2 separate regions of the Homo sapiens genome follow, and region 2 is linked to region 1. Evidence: promoter capture Hi-C in human tissues and cell types (Jung and others, 2019). All regions are on one chromosome and are shown on one strand. Each heading gives the region's core, a stretch centred on a gene start or on the middle of the fragment in contact. The rest is flanking DNA. Distances are from core to core; before and after follow the strand shown.

Evidence for each region. The method cuts DNA at HindIII sites, captures the fragments that hold promoters and counts their contacts. A contact is called where the count stands out against the background at its distance.
Region 2: a contact is called between a fragment that was not itself captured here and the fragment with the promoter of MC3R in region 1, in 2 of the 25 tissues and cell types used here (H1 embryonic stem cells and dorsolateral prefrontal cortex).

The regions. Positions count from the first base shown.
Region 1 is chr20:56,245,299-56,250,411 of GRCh38, reverse strand. MC3R (melanocortin 3 receptor) reads right to left here and starts at 1,680. Exons shown (of 1, transcript NM_019888.3): 1 at 597-1,680. The coding sequence starts at 1,568. The coding sequence ends at 597. RefSeq lists a silencer at 2,210-2,279. The HindIII fragment of the contact is 18,891 bases long and covers 1-5,113 here.
Region 2 is chr20:56,326,327-56,331,636 of GRCh38, reverse strand. No RefSeq gene overlaps it. Among named protein-coding and RNA genes, the nearest start is that of FAM210B, 30 kb to the left of the region's middle. The HindIII fragment of the contact is 4,501 bases long and covers 1,671-5,310 here.

The sequences.
Region 1 (5,113 bases), core at 431-2,930:
CAACTGAAGGGATATGGGGGTAAGAAAAGGGGAAAACGGCATAGCATTGCTCCTTTCACAAAGAGACAATTGTCTAACTGTAAATAGAATAATAGAGTAGAACTCAGTCTCCTACGGAGTTATAAGTGCAAAGCTATCTCTCCGTGTAGCTGGCAGCAGGAGGTCGTAGCTGTAACAGGTTTGCTTGCAAGAGATCTGAACCACCCTTATTGTTCATGAGAATCCTTCAGTCTGGTCTGGCCTGGAGCATGAAGACGTGGGTGTGGAGCAGATGAGCAGACAGGCGTCGCACACCCTGGGTGTTTGGAAATGAGTGCAGAGAGCATGCAGAGAAGCCTTCGCTGATTTCTCCCAGTGACTATTTGGGAAATCAGAGTTTGTGACTTACCCATCTTGGAATCCTTTCAGAGAATCTGTTGTTCACCAATTTTCCCCTTTAAAAGGCTTTGTAAACTTAAAAACAAACGACAAGTACAATCATGGCTGTTAACACATTTTTATATTTTCTAAGTATATATATTTTTCTTTCTAAACACCTCACGTGGATGGAAAGTCAAAAGTGACCCGACTGATGATCATTTCCATGGCCCTGCATCCTATCCCAAGTTCATGCCGTTGCAGCCACAGAGAATCTCCCTAAAGGTGTTGCGCAATTCCAGGCTCCGGAAAGCGTAGATGAGTGGGTCGATGACGGAGTTGCACATGATGAGGACCAGGTAGGTGTTGAAGTGGGCAGTGTAGCAGATGCAGTAGGGGTTGGTGGGGCAGGTGATGATGAGGACCAGGTGGAGGAAGAAGGGGGCCCAGCAGAAGATGAACACGCCCAGGAGAATGGTGATGGTGACTGCCCCCTTCATGCATGAGTGTTGCTGTGGGGCCACCCCGTCGGCAGGTGGCAGTGCTGCTATGCGCTTGACGTGCAGCCGCGCAAAGAGGAACATGTGCACGTAGAGGGTGCCCATGAGGAGCATCATGGCGAAGAACATGGTGATGAGGCACACAATGACCATTTTGCTCTCCGAGTAGACGATGAACACCACGCCACAGACGCCGCAGCAGACCCAGATGGCCACGATCAAGGTGAGGGCCTTCCTCACGGTCATGATGCTGTGGTAGCGGAGCGCGTAAAAGATGGTGACGTACCTGTCGACGGCGATGGCCAGGAGGTTGCAGATGGAGGCCACCAGGGAGATGCAGATCATGGAGTCGAAGATGTTGTCCATGTGCTGGATAAACTGGTCCTCGAAGGTCAGGTAGTCGCTGTGGACGATGGCGATCATGATGGTCTCCAGGGCATTGGACACACTTACCAGCATGTCGGCCACCGCCAGGCTGCAGAGAAAGAAGTACATCGGGGAGTGCAGGTTGCCGTTCCTGACCACGGCCAGGATAACCAGGATGTTTTCCAGCAGACTGACGATGCCCAGAGACAGGAAAACCTCGGGCTTGATGAAGACCTGCTCACAGAAGGCGCTGCTGCTCTGGTTGCTGAAGAAAGGGGCTTGGAGGTGCTCCGAGCCATTAGGCAGTGTTGGCTGAACAGAGGGCAGGCAGCACGAAGCATTCATTGCTGTCAGAAGGGCTGATCCGAGCTGGGGCTCCAGCAGGGTCCGTAGGAAGCTGCTGCTGCTCACAGGAAAGACAAAATCTCCCTCCAGATACGTCTTTTGGATGCTCATTCAATCTGGCCTTAGAGTTTATTCTCCTCTAGAATAAAAGGATGGGGAGGGTAGAGAGACAGATAGTGAGAGAGGGTGGAGGAAGAGACAGAGAGAGAGAGAGACATACACACAGAGAGAAAGAGCGAAGGGGGAAGAGAGAGAGAGAGGGAGAGTAGCTAGTTAGTAGCTAGCATGCAAGTTTGTAGCTTGGAGACATAGGGAGAACTTTGCTGTTCCAGGAGGAGCAGTTTTTATCTTGTTTACATAGAAAAAATACACCATAGGGTCTCTTACCAGCTGTCTTCCTTCTGTCTCCCTCTCACCCCTCTGTTTGTCTCTCCTCACTTCCCCACCTGGGAACAGAAAACCTGCCACCGGCTGCTACAGTTACAGCTCTTTTCATGGCAAGACAGGGGATGTGTTACTTGTCGCTAGAAGTGAAGGGAGAACACTCAGGTTTTTCATATTGGCCAAGGGCAAACAACTCCTACTTAATCTTCAGCGCAGCAGAATGACCACTGAGCATCGGGCACCTCTCTGACTGACAGCAGGTACCTGGCCCTGAGGATTCTGCAGGGAGATTAAGAAGCAGACTAGTGCCCTCTGCAGGCCGCACGGCTGTCTGCTTGCTGGCTTGGCTTAGCCCTTTGTGTTTGTCATGGAAACTGCCACAGGCATCCACTCATCTGTTCATTTGTTTGTTTATTTGTTAGTTCATTCATTTGTTGTTGTTGTTTAGCAAACATTTATTGAGCGCCTACTATGTGTCAGGTCTCTGCTGAGTGCAGGAAATACAGTGGTGAGCAAGACAACAGCCACTATCTCAGGCTTCCCCGAACTCAGAGTCTGGGGTGGAAGAAGAGGAATCAATAAATGCTTGAATCAGGAAAGTCCAGGAAACCAGGGATGCAAAGAGGAAGAGCCCTAACCCGGACTGTCAAAGTTCCTGGAGGAAGGAGCACCTATGCTTTGACTTCAAGGAGGAAGAGGTCATATCCAGTTTGGGGTGGGTGGTGGGGTGGGGGCTGGAGCTGGAGGAGGTAGAAGAGGACTCCAGGCAGAGGGAATCACACGTCTGCAGCCTGGAGGCAGAGAGCACCCTGGCCATAGAAGTCATCACAGATTGTGGATGTGGAGATCCCATTTGACCCGCGGAGTCAGAATCACCCAGGTGTAAGACCTGAACAAGTGTGTTTGCAATTTTTGACAGGTGAGCTGGGGCATAGTCACAGTTGAGCTCCACTGAAAAAGAATCTTGGGCTTTTGAAAGTGCTGAAAGTAGTCTGCTCTGGTCAGAGCATGGAAATAGGAGACACAATCTGAGAAATGAGGCTGCACAGTTTCTTAAAAAGTTGAGAGGTGCCTGAATCCTGAAGGACAGCCTCAGCCAGATGTGAGAATTTGGACAGTACCTTGACAGCAATGGGGACTGTGGAAGAAACATAGGTAGGGCAGGAATGAGATGGGGTCTGCATTTTAGAAATATTCCTGGTTGCAGGGTGGAGAATGAATTAGACAGACTGAGCATGTAGGCCAGGGAGTCCGGGGCAGAGGGTGTTGCAAAGACCCAGGGTGAGATGATGGTGGCCTGGAGCAAGGGAGTGGCCATGGGGACTTGGAAGACTTGGAGGGTGGTCAGAGAGATTCAGAAGGTTGGATAATGCAGCTTCAGAACTGATGGGTTATGGGATCATGGGAGAGGGAGCAGTCAGAAACACCTGTACTTCTTTCTTACATAATGGGGAGGATGGAGATGTTTTAAGCTGGAAAATGTGAAAGGCAGAAGTTAGCAGGTGGCCTACTAATGTAGTGTTGTTCTTGGAAGTATGGTTTAACACTTGGTCCATGTTAGATCTGATTCCCCATGTAGATCATATGAACTCAGAAAACACTGAGTCTTCTCATCCCTACACACACACACACACACACACACACACACACACACGCACATTCTAGGTGAATTAATGATCCATCTCTCCATGTAACTATGTATGTGTGTGTAGGTGTGAGAAATATTAAAAATATGCATATGGAAATAGAAGAAAACTTAGGATCCTTGGGGTGGAAAGATCTTAAGCAAGATGAGCAATCCAAAATTTAGTATGGAAAAACACCCTGAACTAAGTTAAAAGAAAAACAGAATGAAAATATTTGCTATAGGTAAAGTTACTATCTCTTACATACAAAGACTACTTTCACATTAACTAGAAAAAGATAAATTACCCCTAAGAAAATTGGGCAAAGGATATAAATAATAATTTACTGAAGAGAAGATGCAAATGGTTAATAAACATGAAAAGATGTGAAGCCATCTAGGAAGTTGGGGAAATGCCAGTCAAAATGAGATTTTAATATCGTTTTCCCAGCTAGATTGACAAGAGATAAAAAGATGCAAAATTCAGGTAAGAATATCGGGAGGACACTCTCATGCATTTCTAGTGTTTGTGAATAGTTTCACCATTTGGCAGTTCTTACTAAAATAAAAAAAAAGCCTGTTGGTATGAGTTTCTGTCTATGAACTGAGGGGCATGAGAAATACTTTTGTTTATTTGCTTTTTTTAAAAAAATATTTTGTCAAGAGCATGAGTTTAAGTTGCCCTGAATATACATTTCCACTTCTGTTTATTTTCAACAGAACGACTTAATTTCTGATGCCAAGCCACCATTCTTCTAGGTTGGAAAAAAACACATTCTTAATCCTTTTGGGAACTTCTCTTACCCTCAGGGTCACATCCAGTCTGTGGTTTCAAGGGCATGAGTCATACATGTAAAGCTAGACTATAAGGCAGGGACCATTCATTATCTACTAGGTCTTTTCCTGCTCTGTGCTTGGCACGTGCTGAGCACTGACCACCTTTTCCTGCTTTCATTCTCTGGTCGTGTGCATCCTTCAAAGAGAGCAGCTGGGACCTAGTACTTAAAATCTGTGTCCTCAGAGGTATCATCATCACTCATGAGTGTTTATTTGGTCTTCTCCAAACACTACTTCCCACTTTCCTGGGGGAGTTGCACAGATGCAGCATTACGTTTTAACTGAATCTTGCATGAATGAATTGGCTTTATTAATAACAATTGTAGGACATGACAGTCTCTGTCAGTGTTTACCGTATGTTGTTGGCATATGTGGGGGTGTCTGTTTTGAATCAGTTATAATAAATGTAACAAGGAGATTCTTATTCTAGGAGATAATGAACCCAGGTGGTCTCTTTGCCTGAAAAGCTCTTCCTCAATTTTGTGACTGGTATACCCTCCTTATTCTTCAAGATCCAGCTTAAATGTCAACTATTTTTTACAGCTTTTCTTAAATTTCATACACTAATTTACCACCCTTTCTCCTTGCTGACAAGCTGACAGGGTTCAGTACTCCTTCCCCACTCTCAAAAGCACAAGCAACAAGAGAAAAAAAAAGTGGGCCAGGCATGGTGGCTCATGCCTGTAATCCTAGCACTTTG
Region 2 (5,310 bases), core at 2,672-5,171, 79 kb before region 1:
AAGTCTGAAAAAATCTCAAAATACCAATCTTAGGTTCTACAATAGTGATATTATCTATAGGAGTGATTGGAGAAGTTACAAATCTTGTGACCTCCAGAACAATGGCTGGTTATCATTTATGCCTACATCTTGACAGAATTCAGGCCCCTCTCATAATCCTATTCTTGTGGCCTTTAGTTAGTTTTTTTTTTTTTTTAACAAAGGCAGTTTTAGTCTTGAACAAGGTTGGGGGTAGTTTTGGGAAAGGCTATTGTCATCTTTGCTTTAAGATGAAACTATGGACTAAATTCCTCCCAAAGTTAGGTTGGCCTATGCCCAGGAATGAACAAGGGCAGCTTAGAGGTTAGAATCAAGATGGAGTCAGTTATGTCAGGTTTCTCTTATTGTCATAATTTTTAAAGGCAGTTTCATCGATGCAGCCTGAAACCACCAAAAGGTGAAAACTAAAATTTTGCCTTGCCACCATTACAAATATGTGTGCAAATCATATTCCATGGCCAACAAGCAAACATATTGCACCAGAAAACAAACCAATATACCAGGTAACCCTGTTTAGTTTTAGCACTCAAAATAAATGGAACTTTGAGGATTTTACATAGGTTATTGACTCCCTAACAAGACATTTTTATCATTGATTTTTGTAAGGCTGATATGGGAAGATATGTCACAACCTTTAGAGGTATAATAATCACCTGAGAAAGGTGCTATTTTTTTATTTTACTACAAAGAAACTAATTGTAAACTTGAAAATCTTGATTATCTTGTGCGGTTTTTTATTTTAAATACTTGCTGTGTTTTTACTTGATGAGCTGGAACTCCCAAATCTTAGATTCCTTTGCAACTTATTTGCAAGTTAATTTTTCTTCTCTGCTTTTGGTTCGAGACTTGCTTTCACAGTAAGGAAGTAGTCTCAAGATATTGGGCAGTCAAAGTAGACAGATATTCATTACATCCCTACCCCTGAGGGTCCTTCATGCCTTGCTTCTCCCTTATTGCCTCTCTGTTTTTACTTTGCAGGTTCTCTAATAGGCTTTTTTTTTTTTTTTTTTTTGAGACAGAGTCTCACTCTGTCGCCCAGGCTGGAGTGCAATGGTACAATCTCGGCTCACTGCAGCCTCTACCTTCTGGAATCAACCGATTTTCCTGCCTCAGCCTCCTGAGTAGCTGGGATTACAGGTGCATGCCACCACGCCCAGCTAATTTTGTATTTTTAGTAGAGATGGGGTTTCACCATGTTGGTCAGCTGGTCTCGAACTCCTGACCTTTGACCCACCCGCCTTGACCTCCCAAAGTGCTGGGATTACAGGTGTGAGCCACCATGCCTGGCCATAGGCTTTCACCTTTAAGGGAAGGTGGAGGTGTGATTCAGGCAGGAAATTGAAGAGTAAATGCAAACAGATAGGGACTATCCAAGCCTTGAGGTTTATTGCTTCTTCAGTTATAACAAAAAGTTAATTCTGGCTTGGTTAAAAGAGTATGAGCTGAAATCTTGCCTTTTGTGTCTTAATAACACAGAAGAAAGGTTCTTGGTTACTGTAGTCCAGTTGAAGTGTATTTTCCTATTGAAAACAATCAGCATTTCATTAAGTATTCTCCCAGACCTCCCCAGCCTGAAGATACAACTGAGATCACATTAATACCAATATACAGATAACAAAACTCCCAGGTCCTGCTGAAATGCAGGACACCAACCTTTGTAGCAGGTTAGGAATATGTCCTAGAAAAGGTCCCTTATTTTGTCTTTCAGCTTTGACCTTGGTTATTTCTCTCCTGAACACCCACCTCAGCCTTACTGATCTCCTTATCTCCCTCCCTGTTATTCCTCACACAGAAAGTTCTTTTTTTAAACTCTTTGCCTTGTCATTTATGTCACTGATTAAAAAGTCTCTAGTAGCTTCCCATTGCCTATGGCATAAAGCTCTAATATTTTAGTATAGCATACATGGCACTCTGTGATCTGGCCTTGGTGTACCTCTTCAACCTCCTCACTTATTATTCTCCTTTTGCATATTCTACACCGAGCCTTCAGAACTAATGTAACATGTCAAATGTGCCATTCTGTGTTCTGCCTTTACATTTCTGCATATACCGTTTGCACTGCCTGAAATGCTCTTCTTCATCTCTCATCTACTTGGTAAATTCTTTTTTTTTTTTTTTTTTTTTTGAGACAGAGTCTCACTCTGTCTCCCAGCCTGGAGTGCAGTGGTGTGATCTCAGCCCACTGCAACCTCTGCCTCCTGAGTTCAAGTGATTCTTGTCCCTCAGCCTCCTGAGTAGCTGGTATTACAGTCACATGCCATCATGCCTGGCTAATTTTTGTATTTTTAGTAGAGATGGGATTTTACAACGTTGGCCAGGCTGGTCTCAAACTCCTGACTTCAAGTGATCTGCCCGCCTCAGCCTACTGAAGTGCTGGGATTACAGGCGTGAGCCGCCATGCCTGGCTGACTTGGCAAATTCTTTCTGTACCTTCAAGACTCCTCTGATGTCTTATTCTGGCATAACATTTGAAGGCAGAGGCTGTGATGCCTCATGCCACATCTCCTCAACCCAGATGATTTCAGCACCTCTGTGACGGACAGTTCCCTGCAAAAGAAGTCATGCACTGGGCGTGTTGGCTTTAGTCTTCCAGGGAATGCAAATAAAAACCAAACCCACTTTATACCCACTAGAGTGTTTATAATATAAAAGATGAACAATGACAAGTGTTGGCAAGGATATGGAGAAATGGAAGCCCTCATGCCTTGCTGGTGGGAATATAAAATGGTGCAGTCATTTTGAAAAACAGTTTGGGATTTCTTCAAAAAGTTATAGACGTAGAGTTATCATATGATCCAGAAGTTCCACACCTAGATATATGCCCAAAAGAACTGAAGAAATATGTCCACATAACAACCTGTACACAAATTTTCCTAGTAGCATTTTTCATAATAGTAAAAAAGTGGAAAAAATCCCTACATGTCTAGCAATTAGTGAATGGATTAAAAATGTGCTATATCCATACAATTGTTTAGCCAAAAAAGGACTAAAGTATGGACACACATTACAAGACAGGTAAACACTGAAAATATTATGGCAAGTGAAAATGACCAGACATAAAAGGCTAAATAGTTCATGATTCTATTTACATACAAAGTTTAGAATAAGCAACTCCATTAAAGACTGAAAGTAGATTAATGGTTCACAGGAGTTGGGGGAAAAGGAACATAGAGACTCACCACGAATGAGCATGAGGTTGTTTTTTCTTTTCTTCTTTCTTCCTTCCTTCCTTCCTTCCTTCCTTCCTTCCTTCCTTCCTTCCTTCCTTCCTTCCTTCCTTTCTTTCTCTTTCTTTCTTTCTTTCTTTCTTTCTTTCTTTCTTTCTTTCTTTCTTTCTTTCTTTCTTTCTTTCTTTCTTTCTCTCTCTCTCTCTCTCTCTTTCTCTTCCTTTCTTCCTTTCTGACAGAGTCTCACTGTCACCTAGGCTGGAGTGCAGTGGCACGATCTTGGCTCACTGAAACCTCCACCTCCCGGGTTCAAGCGATTCTCCCACCTCAGCCTCATGAGTAGCTGGGACTACAGGTCCACACCCCCACGCCTGGCTAATTTTTGTGTCTTTAGCAGAGACAGGGCTTTACCAAGTTGGCTAGGCTGGTATTGATCTCCTGACCTCAAGTGATCCACCTGCCTCAGCCTCCCAAAGTGCTGGGACTACAGGCATAAGCCACCGCCCCCAGCCATGAGGTTTCTTTTTGTTGTGAGGAGAATGTTCTAGAGTTAGATAGTGCTGATGGTTGCACAACTTAGTGAATATTCTAAAAACCAATGAATCGTACATGTTAAAAGGGTGAATTCGATGCTAAATGAATTATATTTAATAAAAAAAGTACTCTTTCTTACCTTTTTTACTTTGACCCTTGCTTTTCAGCATGCTTCACTTTCCTGAATTGCTGAGGCTCTTATTCACATGAGTTTTCCAAAGGAGCTGGGCATGCCCCAGTGTTGGAGTGGGCACACCTGCAATACCTTCAACTACTCTGATCTCTTAGCTTCTTTCTGCAGAGAACAGCCTTTGTCCCAGGTGCAGCTAAGATCTAAGACACAGAGATGTGTTGTACCTGGAAGGAGGAGAGGTGCCTGGCATCATTGTAAAGGAAGTACCTATTTCACTTTGTTCCCACACCCTAAATGATACCTGGGGCTCCTGGGCCAAACAATAGAATTTTTCTCTGCAAAACCTTGGAGGGAGAAATGAAGCTTGTACGCAGTCCACTATGACTCTGGGCAATTAGGAGCAGGAAAATGATGTAAAACTCAAAATATGGACATTGCAAAATTGAAACCTCAGATAATGAGGGTACAATTGCTATATGCTGTAGTGGTGAGTTCAGGCTTTGAGACCATGGAGACTTATGTTCAGGTTCTAGCTTTCCTATGTGATTTCACTTAGCCTCAGTTCTGTTGTTAGGAAAAATGCTACTTACCTTGGGAGATCTAGGAGGATTAGAGACAATGTATAGAGCATGCATATCACAAAGCTGGCCCTCAATTAATAGTAGTCATGCTTAATATAAAATATGAAGTTACAATGACCTCATGGATCTGATCTATTAAACCTTGGACTGGAATTAATTTGGAATTTGGTAGAAAGCAAAACAAGAAAATTTCATGGTCTAAAGAACCATTTAATGAAAGGGAACTCCCTAACCTGTGATACTGTGAGGCCGGGGAAACTCAGTGCAGGGTAAATAGGCTTTTTGCAGAAAAACATGAAAACCCTCTTAACATTTAAATGGTACAAAGCAATACATTTTGTCTCTCAGACAACCAACAAGCTAGATTCCACTTCTATGTAGAAAAAAATGTGAATGTTCTTCAGGGAAGGCTTGACCTTAATGCACTGGCATATCAAGGACCACATTTTTTACCCCCAAATCCAAACCAAGCACTTTGAAATGCAGATAGATTAAAAAACCCGAGTTTAGTAACCACAGTTCAAAAACCATTGCTAAACATGTACCTTATGCTGGACAGTGCCGTGAGGCTGAGCACAAAGCCTGTGGGTAGCCTGAGTGCCCCTTCAAACATGACTCAGGTGTGCCGGTGATAAACCTTGACTTTGTTCTGATTCCACTTAATTTCTAGTTTAAGACCCATTGGTACCAATGTGGTAGAACATTGATCTCTTCTGATGTTGTGTCTGTGTTTCTGGGGGCTTACACAGCACTGAGCAATTAAACTTTGCAGCTATCTGGCTCTTGATGCCATTGTTCATTTGGGTGCCCTCTGAGACTCCCATTGCCCTTGTTCTGGTCTCCAGGCACTGATGCA